2 separate regions of the Homo sapiens genome follow, and region 2 is linked to region 1. Evidence: promoter capture Hi-C in 16 types of primary human blood cells and fetal thymus (Javierre and others, 2016). All regions are on one chromosome and are shown on one strand. The core of a region is centred on a gene start or on the middle of the fragment in contact, and the rest is flanking DNA. Distances in the headings are between cores, read along the strand shown.

The links. Contacts are between HindIII fragments. The CHiCAGO score rates a contact against its expected background, and 5 or more counts as called.
Region 2: a contact is called between the fragment with the promoter of JAML here and the fragment with the promoter of SORL1 in region 1, in 1 of 17 cell types (neutrophils). The highest score is 5.1, in neutrophils.

Annotation. Positions count from the first base shown.
Region 1 is chr11:121,448,366-121,455,959 of GRCh38, forward strand. It overlaps SORL1 (sortilin related receptor 1), which reads left to right and starts at 3,949. Exons shown (of 48, transcript NM_003105.6): 1 at 3,949-4,251. The coding sequence starts at 3,967. It overlaps SORL1-AS1 (SORL1 antisense RNA 1), which reads right to left and starts at 4,602. Exons shown (of 3, transcript NR_183636.1): 1 at 4,310-4,602; 2 at 1,331-1,534. RefSeq lists enhancers at 2,906-2,965, 4,356-4,545, 4,556-4,605, 4,646-4,715, 4,736-4,785 and 1 more and silencers at 3,836-3,885, 4,016-4,065, 5,910-5,959. The HindIII fragment of the contact is 8,160 bases long and covers 1-4,705 here.
Region 2 is chr11:118,221,707-118,229,300 of GRCh38, forward strand. JAML (junction adhesion molecule like) reads right to left here and starts at 3,305. Exons shown (of 10, transcript NM_001098526.2): 1 at 3,235-3,305. MPZL3 (myelin protein zero like 3) reads right to left here. Exons shown (of 6, transcript NM_198275.3): 6 at 4,984-7,594. The HindIII fragment of the contact is 17,664 bases long and covers 1-7,594 here.

The sequences.
Region 1 (7,594 bases), core at 2,699-5,198:
AGAAGGAGTTATTTCTTTGGGGGCAGGCGGGTATTTCTATTTTGCCTGAGCTGGTGAGGTCAATGGTAGTTATTTGGCCAAAGTAACATGGAAGAGGGAACAATGTTTACCATCCTAAGGGCAGGGAAGTCCCTTTTCTGCTTTAATGACTCTGGTCTGGTTGCGTGACTCAGAGAGGCCTGCTTTGGGGGAGAAAACGAGGTGGGAAGCAGATGGTGGTAAGAAAAGATCTGAGATTCAACTACATTGGCCCCTTAACCAACCATTGCCACCAGGACAAAGGTGGTGTCACTTCTCACCTTCATTTAAATGCATGCATCCTATAAATATCATTGAGTGCCACCATGTGCCAAGAGTATGCTGGGCACTGGGCGTCTAGACTTGAATGAGATAGACTGGTTTTGTCATTCTGCTGCTTGTAGATTAAGAGGAAGATGGAGATTAAGCAAGTGACCAGAGAGGAAGTATCAAAGGCTACAGGGGACTAGAGCCTTAGAGTGAGGGCTGTAACCTAGCCTAGGTGCCTAAGGAGGCTGCTCTGAAACCTGAAGGCTGAATAGAAGTTGGCCAGCCAGGAGGTGAGCATGTGAGAAGGCCACAGGAAGAGAAAGAACAGAAAGAAGTCAAATTAGGCTTTGGGGAGTTTTTTCCTCTTCGTGGCTGTCCTTGCTGCTATTTTAAACATGACTCCACCTGGATAAAAATGTAGGACACTGTGACCTCTGTGTGTTTGTCCTCTACCTCCATCTCCAGTGGCCTAAGATGGGCAGTAGGACAGAGGAGGGCAGTTTAAAGTCTGACAACAGGCTTAAGACTGTTTTATACACAGCTGTGAGTCTATCATTACATTTCCGTGCATGTTGATTTTCGTCATGATGCTGGGCAGCATCCGAGCAAGGCCATGCAAGATGGGACAGAGGGGGATATGGTACTGTCTTCCATCCTGCACCCCAACTTTGATGTTACTTCAGAGGGATAGAGGAAGTGGTAGCTTGTTTACAACCCAGAGCTGGTTTTGAAGCTGAGAGGAACACCTCACTCATATTGCACGATTCAGCTCTAACTCCTGTCCTGGGTGACCTTGCCTGTGGCTGCTCCTATCTCACAACCCAGTGGGGGTCCTGAAGGTTTGGGAGTGGTCAGGGCTGAAAGGTGTCTTTTCATTTAACTTATGAAGAAATCGTAAGAGACAAGATGATCAAGACAAAAAATTACATAATAATTTGGTTGCAAAGCCAGGACTAGAATCTATGTTTCTAATGCCACCTGCATGCACTATTTCTCTCTGGAGGCCTTCACACAAATTTGCACAGCTATTTTATATACTTACCTCATCTGATACTCTCAGCAGTCCTGTGAGATTGGTAGGGATTAAGATCTCTATTTTACAGATGAGAAAACTGAAGCTCTGAGGAGGTTTGGCCAAGTCCCCACAGCTAGAAAGTCAACCTTCTGACTCAGAATTCAGCGTGTCTTCCACTGCGTTCTGTAGTTGTGCAGCAGGCACAGTCTTGGGGGGTTGCTGATTATCTACCTGAGAATGGTTTGGAATGTAGATAATGATTAGATAGGAGGGCTTGCAAGGAGTTAATTAACCATGTTTGAATATTCTTACCAATTCTCTAGCATTCAAGTTGCAAATCAACATCAAAATGAGCAAGTAGCTGGCCCTGCCCTACTAGTCCTTCTGTGCAAGGGGCCATCTGAACCTTAAGCCAGCAGTTTGTGTGGGCAAACAGATGCCCATCTTCAAATCCACACTTAGGAGACTCCTGTCTCTGTTTTCTGCTGGGACTCTGACACTTGCTCTTGCAGAGAAGGTTCTCATTAAATATATGTTGGAAAAACCCCAATAATTGAATCATCTACAGGATGTTCTCACTTTAGCCATATTCCCTTCATTTTCCTTTGAGGGCTAAATGGGAGTAGAGATATCTTTGCTGCTGGTCCTGAGAGACCATGGGGTTGTCCATTCCTGGTAAGGTGATGCTGACCAGACAGAGCTGATCTAGATGAGGGGTGGGAGGTGACAGTGGTTCAGTGGCTTTCTTGGAGGATGCATGATTGTTTGAATTATTATTTTTAATTGACATATATAAGTATATAATAAATATATATGTTATATATATGAGTTAGAGCTGAATTGCACAATATGAGCAAGGCGTTCCTCTCAGCTTCAAAACCAGCTCTGGGTTGTAAACAAGCTACCACTTCCTCAATCCCTCTGAAATAACATCAAAGTTGGGGTGCAGGATGAAGGCACCCCAATAATACCACACTGGGGAAAGTGTGGTATTTTGATACCTGTATACAATGTATAATGAACAAAGCAGGGTGGTTAACATAGAGAATGCATGATTTGCTTGGTGGGGAGAACTGGATGGTTCTGTAATTATGTTGAGATGGACAGAAAGACATCATCTGACTTGGGGAGAAAATCGGGTGTGGGAGGAGGTGGGAGAGTGCAGAACCTGAGGCAGAGGTCCCCAGCAAGTCTGGCATGGGGTAGGGTAGGGTGGTTGAATACTGGCTTCAGGGAGATGAGGCAAGCTGGCCTGACTCTGGCAGGTTGTCAGTGGTAGTCCTAGGTAGAGGAGGGGGCTTTGCTAAGCTACCTGAAAAGTACTAGAGTGGGCCGGGGTAGGAATCGGGCTACCGTGGCTTGTCGGAGATGAGGAATGTTTTTAGAAAATTGAACTGACCATCCCTTCCTTCCCCTGAACAGCAGCTTGTATGCAACTATAAAGGTAGTCTCCCTTTCAGCCCTGCTTGCTGTGTCTTTATTCTTATCAAAAACCAGGATCTGAGTTCAGAGGGCAGTGAAACATAAAATGAAATAGGAAAGGTTGCAGTAGTACATAGACTTTGGCTGCTCCCACTAACCTGCAAAAAAAATATTTTCCTTGGGCGTACCTTAGCAGTTCCATGGCAGAAGTTTTATCTCCTGTGGTTCAGAGAGTTTGGCTCGTCAAGCTGAATGTAGGGTTAAAGTGTGTCCTCCCTCCTCTGTGGGTGTTTGCCTAGCTCCTGGCTGTGGGTTGAAGGGACTGGTAAATATGTCTATTTTACTGCTGAGGCAGGGTGGCTCAGTGCTTGGTCACCTTGGAGGGATCATAAGCAAGCCGCCGCTGGGGCCCTGTGCCACGCACAGGTATTCATGCGTGCGTGCAAGCACACCCTGTATAGCTGTGTAATAATTGTCCAGGTGTGGTGCATTCTTTGTCAGATGTACCCTTGTTTTTACTGCCTCTGTGCAGGATGTTTATTTGCTGTGCTTCAGGCTGGGGCACGTAGCTTGATCAAGGGTAGTTTTTGCTGTGGCCCCTGCAAATACGTTGTGGTGCCCAGAGTAGATGAAAAACTGTGAGTTTCCCAATAGAGCGGGTTCATCTGGACTCTTGTTGGTTGCGTTCTAGGAGCTAATTCTGTGGCTCTGGACTCTTCCCTGGAGGTGGGGATGAGGCCGGGGCCGGGGGGAGGTGGTCTTGTGGCGCTACTGCGGGCTGTGCACTCAGGAAAGTGGCCACGGTTTAGGACGACCTCGACACGACCCTGTATAGGACGCAACTAACTCCAGAGAAAACGAGCGAGCCCCATGCAACTCTTCATTCCTGCAGGGAGAACAAGGAGGTGTGCCCGCCAGGGAAGGGACGCACCCCCACCGGCGCTCGCTGCCTTAACTTCCCCATCCCCGCGCCAGGGAGGGGCCGGAGTCGCCGCCGAGGCCGCCGAGCGCAGAAAGTGCGCGAAAGGGACGCGCTGCGAGCCTCACACGTGACGGCGCCGCGCCGAACCGAGCGGGACCTGGCGGCAGCGGCGGCGGGCGCAGCGGGGCGGCCCGGAGCGGCGCGGGCGGCCTGGAGCCCCGGGAGCGGCGCGCGCGGTCCCGGCCCAGCGGCTCTCCTGGCCTCGCGCTGCACATTCTCTCCTGGCGGCGGCGCCACCTGCAGTAGCGTTCGCCCGAACATGGCGACACGGAGCAGCAGGAGGGAGTCGCGACTCCCGTTCCTATTCACCCTGGTCGCACTGCTGCCGCCCGGAGCTCTCTGCGAAGTCTGGACGCAGAGGCTGCACGGCGGCAGCGCGCCCTTGCCCCAGGACCGGGGCTTCCTCGTGGTGCAGGGCGACCCGCGCGAGCTGCGGCTGTGGGCGCGCGGGGATGCCAGGGGGGCGAGCCGCGCGGACGAGAAGCCGCTCCGGAGGAAACGGAGCGCTGCCCTGCAGCCCGAGCCCATCAAGGTGTACGGACAGGTGAGCAGTTTTGCAACCCGCCTCCCTCCAGTTTTTTCCTCTCCCTGCACTTCCTCACCCCCGCATCCATCCGTTGCAGTCGCCTCCTAGGTGCAGGCACCACTGGGGACTTCCCGGCTTGCATTTGTTTTTTTCCTTCACGAGTACAACCGTCAGCACTTGAATCGCATTGATCTTTCCTTCTTCCTGTCGATTTAGTAAACGTATTCCAGGTAACTCGCCGGGTGCAGTGCGTATTACCCCAGGGTGTGTGCAGAGAGATGTAGTTTCCGGCAGGTATAGGAGGGGTGCAGCTTCATTTTACATCTGGATAAAAAACGGGCTTTCTTTAGTGTATCATCAGTTGGCAGTGGAGGCGAGCACCCTGCAGTTGCGGTACACTTACACAGAACAGCACGAGGTGGGGGTTTCCACACTTAGCATTATTAGCACAATAAAAGTGGGCAAACCTGAAAGCTTGTCGACTATCTCTGTACAGTCAGACAAGAGGTGTGTGTATGTGTGTGCGTGTGTAAAGGCTGAATTTTTAATTTTTAATTTTTGGCGAGCGTGTGAGATGCTCTCCATTCCTTCTTCCCCACCCTTCAAGATGCTGACTCTCCCACCCCCGTCAAGATAACTTTATTTTGGAGAGGAATACCCCTCATGGCACTTGGAGATTTGAAAGGACTGCAGGAAATTTGGTGGGCATTATTATTCTATAAGTGATTTATTTCTACCCAGGCAATAGGTTTATTAGATCATAAGTAACGTGAATTTCACTTTTATGGTCAGACTTACTGCGAGGAATTGCAGATGGAGTTTGTAGGTTAGGATCAGCACTGGCAAAATTAATTTGACCGTGTTATTGCCTCATGAGACTCCCAGTCCTGCAGTTAAGATTGACATCAGCAAAAGTATAAGGTCGGTGGGGGAGAAAAAGTAGGACCAGAGGAGGGGGTAAATACACTTGTTTTCTAGAGTCAAATTGTTCCTTTTGAAGTAGAAATTATTAATAAAAGATTACCCTGAGTTCTGCCTTTTCTCACTAATTTCACTTTAGCCATTTCTTCAGGAAATACAGAGTTAAATGTTCAACCCTTGGATCCAGGACGAACCTTGTAAACATATCACCCTATTGTGTCATTTTGTTGGTGAAGAAACTGAAGCGTGGAATGGTGAAGTGACTAGTCCAAGGTCATACCGGGAAGGTGGCCTGCTCTCTAGTTTTTGTCTGCATTGTCTCAGTGACCTTTGCTTGACTGCAGTCACCCTGTCTTTATGCAATGCTGCTGAAATACCTCCTTTCTAAAATAAAATAGATCTGGTATAAAGGGGGAAAGGATGGTGGTGACTGGGTGGGAGCGTTGGATTTCCCTCCACTATTGGTCCCTGGGCAAGAATGTGTGCCCCAGGGCATGTAACTAATGGTGGCCACAGGCTGCAGGAACCTGCATGCTCAGTTCCTCTTGGGCCCAGATCCTTGTCCCCCTGTCCCCACCCCATATGACAAATATGTGTATGAACAAAAAGAAGTCATCAAGGTCCTTGCTCTTAACAGCGACACCAGCATGGGGCTGATGGAGGGTGGGAGAAGGAGGAGGAGTGGCCCACTTCTTCATTGGGCCTCCGCAGTCAGCCCAGCTCTGCTGTGCTCTTGAATCAGCATTCTGGGAACTGGGAGTTGGGGGCTGGTGGGAGACAATCCCTCCCAGTGCTCAGGTCCCCTGAAGCTATAGTTTAGGTTGAGGAAAAAGTTTTCTGGTTTCAAAAATATGTGTACATGTGCCATTTCTTTCTTGGGTTTGGTTTATGAAAAGCTCCAGGGGATGTGGGGCAGGTTGGACATGAACTCTGTTCTCACTGGGAGTGACTCCCAAACCCTGGGCTTTTGAGTTTCTGGGCCAGCCAGATTGAGTTTGGTTCAGCTGAAGGATGGAGAACTAGCAGTCAAACTCATAATGAGGAATTCCTAACCGGAGGGTGAGGGTACAAGGGTGAGATTTTTCTTCTCTGTGGCTGCCTTCCTATGCCATTGTTGCCTCTTGCTCTGAGGTTAATAAGAAGTGGAATTAATTTGAATCTGTAAGGATTTGAGTCAGATAAAAGGAAGAACTTCCCTGTACTGGGCTTTCTGCCACAAGTTCTATCTGGTGCAGACCCTTCAGAATGCAAGCACAGGTTGGTGACTGAAGGGGTTTGAGGTGCCCCTCTTGGAACTCTGGAGTAACTAACATCTATTTGGAATGATCTTTCTAGCAAGGATGACCATTGCCTCTGTGTTTCCCTGGGGCAGACCTGGTTTCTAAGTTGTCTCTGGTGGTTATGAATAGCACCCCCTTCACTCTCAAAAGTGTCAAGATGTGACAATAAATTATATGGTCCTACTTTTAGCCTTAAGCCAAGTTCCACTTTGTAATCACGACTTTCCCCTTCAACGTTTAAACCTAAGGAATGGTGATGTTTTCCAACAGTACTGCTTGACTTGAGTGTGGTTCTATGGAGGTGCAGTGAGCTGGGGAATAAAATTTCATTCCTGCTTTTAGGAAATTTACAATTTAAGGAGGAGAGCAAGCAGATGCAGATACAGGCATGTCAATGTACCAGGATGGGAACCAGGAAACATGGTCACAAGAAACCAGCCACAACTCTACAATGGTGTGATAACGGGCTGTGTGACATGCAGCGCATGGGAGATGGAGAGATAAGGGGTGGTGGGCTCAGACACTGTCCAGCTTCTTGCCCTCTGACCTTTGAGTGAGGTTAAGAGGACACTGGCAGCACAGGTTAGGGCTGGAAGCAGAAGCTGCCTGAAGGAAGCAGGCCTAGAGGCGATGTTAAGGCCACCACCTTCAGGGAGAAGAGAAGGGAAGGCTTTCTAGGGGAATACTTGCATCTGAGAAAGAGCCCTGTGCTGGAGTCAATGTCGGTCCTTTTTCCTCTGCTTCGCTAATGTCTTGGGTAAACTAGGCTTGGTTATTTTGACCATTTTCCTCCTCAGTTTCTCTAAGGTGGGGAGACCGGCTTCTGCCATGATTACTTAAAGGCACATTTATGATACTGAAATGTGATTGTAGGGGTGAAAATAATTTGCTGGCAGATATCAGGACTTTTCTGCCCATGTTCAAGGCTCACGCCTGTAATCCCAGCACTGTGGGAGGCCGAGGCGGGTGGATCACTTGAGGTCAGGAGTTCGAAACCAGCCTGGTCCACATGGGGAAACCCCGTCTCTACTAAAACTACAAAAATTCACTGGGCGTGGTGGCAGATGCCTGTAGTCCTGGCTACTCAAGAGGCTGAGGCAGGAGAATCGCTTGAACCCCGGAGGCGGAGGTTGCAGTGAGCCGAGATCGCGCCATTGCAC
Region 2 (7,594 bases), core at 2,055-4,554, 3.2 Mb before region 1:
CCCTCTCACAGTGGTGCCCTGGGTTCAATTCCTGGCTCCAAAAGTGAGTCTTTTGTGGTTTAATCATTTATTGATTCTTTTCCCCTCCATGGAGAGCTCCTAATTTCCTGTCTTGAAATTTTCTTTTCTCTGAGTTACCTTTGGGGCAATTCTAGATCTTGTAAATTGCTTACCATCTCTTTGGAGACACCTTGTGTGTCCCTGTTTAAGTTATCCCCTTACTTAAGGTTTATTAATTTCACATAGGAGGTTACCTTTAGGTAAAGATTCAAAAGCCAGAAATATTGGCCATTTGTCCTGGCTAAAATCTGGTAATAAAAGATTTTTATAGGATTTTTATTTTGAGAACTCCATAGTCAGAAATCAACTTAATTAAAGACGATATTTGGGCTGTATGTATACAGATATTGTTTTAAAAGCCCCTGCTGGCCAGGCACAGTGGCTTATGCCTATAATCCTAGCACTTTGAGAGGCCAAGGTGGACAGATCGCTTGAGCCCAGGAGTTTGAGACCAGCCTGAGCAACTTGGTGAAACACCATCTGAACAAAAAAAAAATACAAAAATTAGCTGGATGTAGTGGCAGGCACCTGTAGTCCTAGCTACTCAGGAGGCTGAAGTGGGAGGATCACTTGAGCCCAGGAGGCTGAGGCTGCAGCGAGTTGTGATCGCACCACTGCATTCCAACCTGGCGACAGAGCGAGACTCCATCTAAACAAACAAAAAGCCCCTGCTTTCCCTCTAAGAACTTCTCAGTCAATGGAATTTTGTCTTGATTTTCCATTTCTGTCTGTCTGTGTATTTATATGTGTTGTATGTATAGTATTTATATAAAAGAGCTCTAATTAATTGGCTTAAAGAAACTAAAATCAAACATTTTATCAGAAAAAATTGAAACTTTAATCTCTTTTAGGTCACGTGACTCTAATGATTTTTAAACATAAAGACAGTGTAAATAACATAAAAAATAAAGACAGTGTAAGTAAAGAATGTGTTTTGGTGGGAGGTTATAAGAAGGCGTGTGAATATGGTTTCTGTTAAAGAGAACGTAATTTTGTCTAGCTCAGAGGGTTTTAACTATTGGCCTCACCTAAAAGAGTAATGGGACAGCTGGGCATGGTGGCTCACGCCTGTCATCCCAGAACTTTGGGAGGCTGAGGTGGGGAGATCACTTGAGGTTAGGAGTTCCAGACCAGCCTGGCCAACATGGCAAAACCCCGTCTCTACTAAAAATACAAAAATTAATCAGGTGTGGTGGTGAGCGCCTGTAATCCCAGCTACTTGGGAGGCTGAGGCAGGAGAATCACTTGAACTCGGGAGGCGGAGGTTGCAGAGAGTCGAGATTGTGCCACTGCATGCCAGCCTAGGTGACAGAGTGAGACTCTGTCTCAAAAAAAAAAAAAAAAAAAAAGAGTAATGTGACAAAACTGATGGTTTAAGCAAGTTGAAAAGGGTTTGTGAAGGGTTAATCTCATGAAAAGTTCTGTGGGTATAAGCAGGTTGGCTAAGATTTAAAGGGGATTACTTAGTTTTTCCATAGGTCGAACACTGAAATAAAAGCACACTGATGTAGGGCCAGAATCCGGGCCCATGTGTCTGAATAATGGTTTTCTAGAGAATTTATTTGTTTAACAGAAAATTGTAAAGAATTATGAGAGGTTTGTGGACGTTTTACCTTATGGTCAAACTATGATTGTATAGATTTGTTTATAAGGTTTTATTAAGAATTGGATCTAACATTAATAATATACTAATGCAAAGGTGAAATTTTGCTTTCTCTCATAAACAAGATTTTTGCATAATATTTTAAAATAATGAGATTTTTGTTTACCTTTTAATAAACAACAGAAAAAGGAGGAGAGAGGAAATAGATTCGGTTGGCATCATGCTGTCTTTATTGCGACCTGCTTGGAAAGTTGACTCTCCCCTCTATCAGCAAGTAAAGATTTTTGCCTTTTAGAAATTTTGGAGTTATCATTTTGGCTACCTAAATGACTTGTAGTGACTCTATACTAATCTTCTCTGAGCAACTCTCCTCCATATCCTGTTGGGTAATGAGAACAAGTGGCACCCCCTCCCTCCAAAAAATCCATACCCCTTTATATTACAGAAAAGAAATCTTCAGAAAAGAGACATGCTACAATGAGACTACCATACAAGATGTGAAAGTTACCCCCCAAATTACAATATCATGAGACAAAATAAGGGAGAGCTGCTGTCTCTCAGTGTTTGTCCCTAGTAAGGACAACTAACCACTGAGCAAACGGACAACTGCACAGCCTTCTTTTACTCACAGAGTGTTGTCCACCTGCAGAGCCAAGTCCTCTCAATCTATCTGCACACTGCTGTGCACTTCTAGGCTCTCAGATGTTTTTAGGTCTACAAGTCCATATAACCACTCTAAGCCATGCGTCTTAAAATATGCCCTCATTTTCCATTGTTAAGCCATTGAATACAGACTGGTAGGTCACGTGGCTTCTGTAACACAGTCTAGGTCACATCGGTTAATGCTCTACGCGAATGGGACCCTGGAGGTCCTTACTCCTGCTCTCTTCTCCAGAGTAGGTTATACCTAAACCATCCTGCATCAGCCTTTCCCAAGGTCAGGGCTGTGCTGAGGGTGTAACAAGCATGGACAGTAGCCTAGCTTTCTTGGGAGATTTAAGTCTCGGGCTTCTAAAGGTTAAATATTGGTTTGTCTATAATGGGGAGAAGAAAAACAGTGGTATAACTATGTAAAATGATGGATATATTAATCTGCTTCACCATAGTAAACTTTTTACTATCTACATGCATCCCACAACATCATGTTGTATACCTTAAATACACACAATAAAATTTGTTTAAAAATAAAATTAAAAACTGTCTTCTAAAAAGAAAAACAGTGAAGAAAGAGCTCTGCTGTGAGCTCAAGAACAGCCAGTCACAGCTCCACCTAAACCCACGGGTGACTTAAAAGCTGAAGCCTTGTCATAATCATTGTCACGTACTCTTATTATGATGAAACTTTGCTCCTCTTTTTGCTGAGGAGATTCACCTAAGTTACTCTACACGACAGTAACTGAAACAGCACCCATTAGACTACTTTATGACATCCCCCTGCAGAGATCAAGAGTTCTGCAATCGCAGCTTCACAATCCTGAGAGACTACCAATTCAACCAGCCTTCAGGACTGGCACACTTCTGTGTGAGAAAAGTTCAAAAAATGGCTTAAGAAATTCAAAGCAACTGCTTACCCAAGATGAAGAGCACCCAGGGGAGGCAATGCACTGAAATCTCCCCACAGCTGCAGTCCCCAAGCTCAACTGAAAGACTGCTGCGAGCACTCTAGGTTAGGCTCAGAGCAAACCAAACACGTGCCTTCTGAAGTGGTTGCAGAGATGCAAACAGGAACCTCTAAATCAAGGTTCTCATTTCAGTCATCTGGCCCATTACCCAATTGTTATGTATACTTTCATTCTAAAAAGAGGTGACAAATTCAACCTACTGAGGTGAACCTCACACTCAGACCTCTTCAGGTGCCATCTCCCCTTTTAGATGACAAGCCCTCTGAGGGTAGGAGCTTGAATGGCACCAGGCAAATAGGTGCTGAGAAAGAAATCCATTTCATGCAAACAAAATACAATAAACGTAATATTAACACAAAACCTTCTGTGTTAAAGATACAGCAACCTCTTTTATTTTTCCTCTCAAAACAGAGGTGCAACCTCGCCAGGCAATCACCCAATCCCTGCTTCCAAAGATACGCCTGCCCAGTCCTCCAACTCACCATGTAGACATGAAAGTTTCCTCTGGCCATGTGATATCAGCATTTCCAGAATACAGGCAGCCATTGATTCCCATAGAGAACCTCTTGGGTGACTTGGACATCCTAGATTAGAACTCAAGGTTTCTTCACTTCAAGATACCTCTCAGTCTTAGTCACCACTTCAAAATAGGTGTTCTCAATGTACGCACCTTCAACCTCGGCTAGATTGGCTTGACCTAGGCATGGGCAGACTCATGGAACTTGTCCTGTATCATCTGAAAAGCTGTTGAACGTTTGCTCCCAAGCACTACGCTGCATGGTCCTTGAGAAGTGATGTGCTAGAGAGCCAGCAATCTCCACAGCATAAATATTCCCATCATAACCTATTTCAAGCTACCAACAGTTTAACAACTGGCTTGCAAAATTCCTAAAAAACTTAATACAGGTTGAGTATCCCTTATCCAATATGCTTGGGACCAGAAATGTTTCAGATTTCATATTTTTTTCAGATTTTAGAATATTTGCCGAATACATACAAGTTGAACGTCCCTAGTCTGAAAATCCAAAATGCTCCAATAAGCATTTCTTTGGAGCATCATGTTGGCACTCAAAGTTACAGATTTTGGAGTTGAAATAGCAACCACTCTTTTGTATTTTCAGATTAGGGGTACTCAGCCTGTAATCAGCTCTTGCTATGTAAGCTGGTTCCAGCACACCACGGAACCTCTGCAGGTTCTTGCGGGGGTACAGCTCCGACATGACTGGTTGCACGATGCTGAAAACCACTGTTAAATCAAGTTTAGCCTAAAGCTGCCTCCTTACATATTTTAAGTTTGGCCTAAAGGTTTCTCTGTACATCATGAACTATAACGTAAATGGAATAGTATACGGACTCTAGTCTACTCTTGTGCCAGTCACTGAGTTTGGCCAATCGAAGATGGCCAATGATTCAAACTATTCAAATAAGGCAAACACCGAGCTGTAACCAATCCGGCTATTTCTGTACCTCACTTCTGTTTCCTGTACATGACTTTCCTTTTGCTGTCCATAAATCTTCCACCACGTGGCTGCGCTGGAGTCTCTGAGTCCACTCTGGCTCAGGAGACTGCCTGATTCATGAATCATTCTGTGCTCAATTAAACTCTTTTAAATTTAATTCAGCTTTTAATACCACAAACCCCCATCTTTTTCACATGACAATTCCCACCTTTTATGTAGATATGCACACACCAAAAGGTAGCCAAAGGGTACAAAGAAGTTTATTGACTATGATGCAGTAAAGATACCAAGAGTTACAATATTTGTGCATATGGCCCAACAGTGCCTACCCTCCTACAAAACAAAAACAAAAACAAAAAAAGGCAATGAGGTGCAGCAGTTAACAGCCCAACACTGGAGTCAAAGGAATGGAGCTGCCTCTTCTGGCAGCAAAGTTTCAAGTTGTGCAATTAAATAATAGTCTTGGTCCACTCCTTGTGGGTCTTCTTACAGTTTCCCTTTAGAACCATAACTGAGTGACTTAGTAGAACATTCATATTCAGGATGTGGCCTCCAGAAGTGTCGTTTTGTTTTGTTTTGAACAAAGACGTGCTACCTTCTCTCTTGAAGCACCAGTGCTGGGTTCAGGAGCTACAGAGGACTAAGATGTTCCCCAAGTAGCCTGAAGTAACAGGTCACATGGAAAACACAAAGCAATTGGTGAGTCCACATTTTGTAATAGAATTAAGAGCGTAATGCATAAAACTTAAAGTCATGTAACCACATGTAAAAACTTCAGCAGCTAAAGAAAAATTCTGGAAGGCTTTTAACCCCTTCTGAACTAAGTTCCCTTTCTAAACGAGGCTGGTTTCCATGGCTGTGACAAGAGCTCATGAGGTAGCAAAAAGAGAGAGAGAATAGCACCTTAGAAGTTACTCAAACAAGAGGTGAAACAAATAAGTAAACAAAAAAAGACCACTTTATCTTCCTTTCATCCTTAAAGAAGGCAGGTGTCTGTACACTGCTTTGTGATCCTTCGAAGAATAAAAAGCTGTAACCCAAATCTCAGTATAAGGGATGAAGAAGGAAAATGATAGCAGCTGATGACTGGGATGCGACCACAAACCCATATAGTAAACTAAGTTATCAACGTACTCCCTTACCACGAAGGACTTCATTCAGTCATTTAAAAAGCAAGGGACTAGTTCAAATCATGATTAAGGCTATAAAAGAACACGACTGAGTATTCACAGAGCACCAATTACCTCAAGTTTAGACTAGGTGTCAATCTACAAACATACTACCCTGCATTAATCTTCACAACACACCTGCGAGGACATTACAAGAAGGCCCAGCCAAAATTAGTTCCTCATTTAATGGGATATGGCTTTCAGTGGGTTCCTGTAACACCATCTCTTTCTTGGAGAAATGAGGACCTGCAAAATAGTCCCCCTCACAATGAGATCTCTATCTTCAAATCTCTGAGAGCCCAAGTTATTTACTCTCATTGCTCAAGTTGCTTTCCTCTCTCTGTTGAGGTGTCAGAAATGGTCACGTTAGATTGGCCTCAGACAACCACAAAAGTTAACAAGCAGTCCCAAAGTACCGTGAGGTTTAACCACTGGAAATGTAAACTGCCGGTCCTGTCTTTGCCCTTCTACTTCCTCGCGTGACCAGAGTCAAATCACAATGTCCTTCAACTAACCAGATTCGCTCATCTGTGGACTAGGTTAACAGAAGAGGCTAGGCCAAATCTATGATACGGATCTAACAACCCAAATTTTTTAAATTAAGTCTTCAAAAAAAAAAGAAAGAAGTTGAGAGAGAGAAAAGTGATTTTTAAACTAACATATACAGTCTGAAGCGCTGTAATATGGAAACTTCCTGAACCACCTAATGAAAAATCATGAAAAGGGATCAACCTGTTGAAAGAATAGAGACAGGTGAGGGGATAATTTTTGTCTCTCATAATTGAGAAGTAAATCCAATCACTATTACAGAAGACTATTTATATATGCACCATCCATCTTTACTGATATACTATACATATGCCTTAATGGCTTATAAAAAATCCTATGTAAATTAACATTTGAAACAAGTTGTCATAGCAGAATGGAGTAACCTGCTGTAAGGCACTGAGAGAATACAAAGGAGAAGTATGTCATGCACAATCTCACTTCCTCATCTCAAATATTATGTAAAAACCACTTGCAAATACCATAGTTTACTCACAGTTGGCACATTTTAGAAATCAACAAAGTTTTGAAAAACAATACAAGTGAAAAGATGATTTAATTTGCAAAGAACTCCTGAAATACTCCATAAGCCCCCCACTAAAAACCTGTAAAGAGTTTTTCTTGCCTCTGACCTGAAAATTCAAGAAGAAAAGTTGTAGTTATAAGAAAATAAAATAACAGGCCAAGCACAGTGGCTCATGCCTGTAATCCCAACACTTTGGGAGGCCGAGGCAGGTGGATCACGAGGTCAGGGGATTGAGACCATCCTGGCCAAAATGGTGAAACCCCGTCTCTACTAAAAACACAAAAATTAGCTGGGTGTGGTGGCGCATGCCTGTAATCCCAGCTACTCGAGAGGCTGAGGCACAAGAATCGCTTGAACCCAGGAGGCAGAGGTTGCAGTGAGCCAAGATCACACCACTGCACTCCAGCCTGGCGACAGAGTGAGACTCTGCCTCAAAAAAAAAAAAAAAAAAAAAAAAGCAAGACAGAAAATAACAAAGACTCCTTAGCCCAAATTGTACCAGCAAGACTAAAGAAAATAATTTTTCTACTTCACGATTCCTTTCCTTAACTGTAAATTGATGACACTGTACTTAATACTTTAAAAACCCAGTCAAAGCAAACCAATGA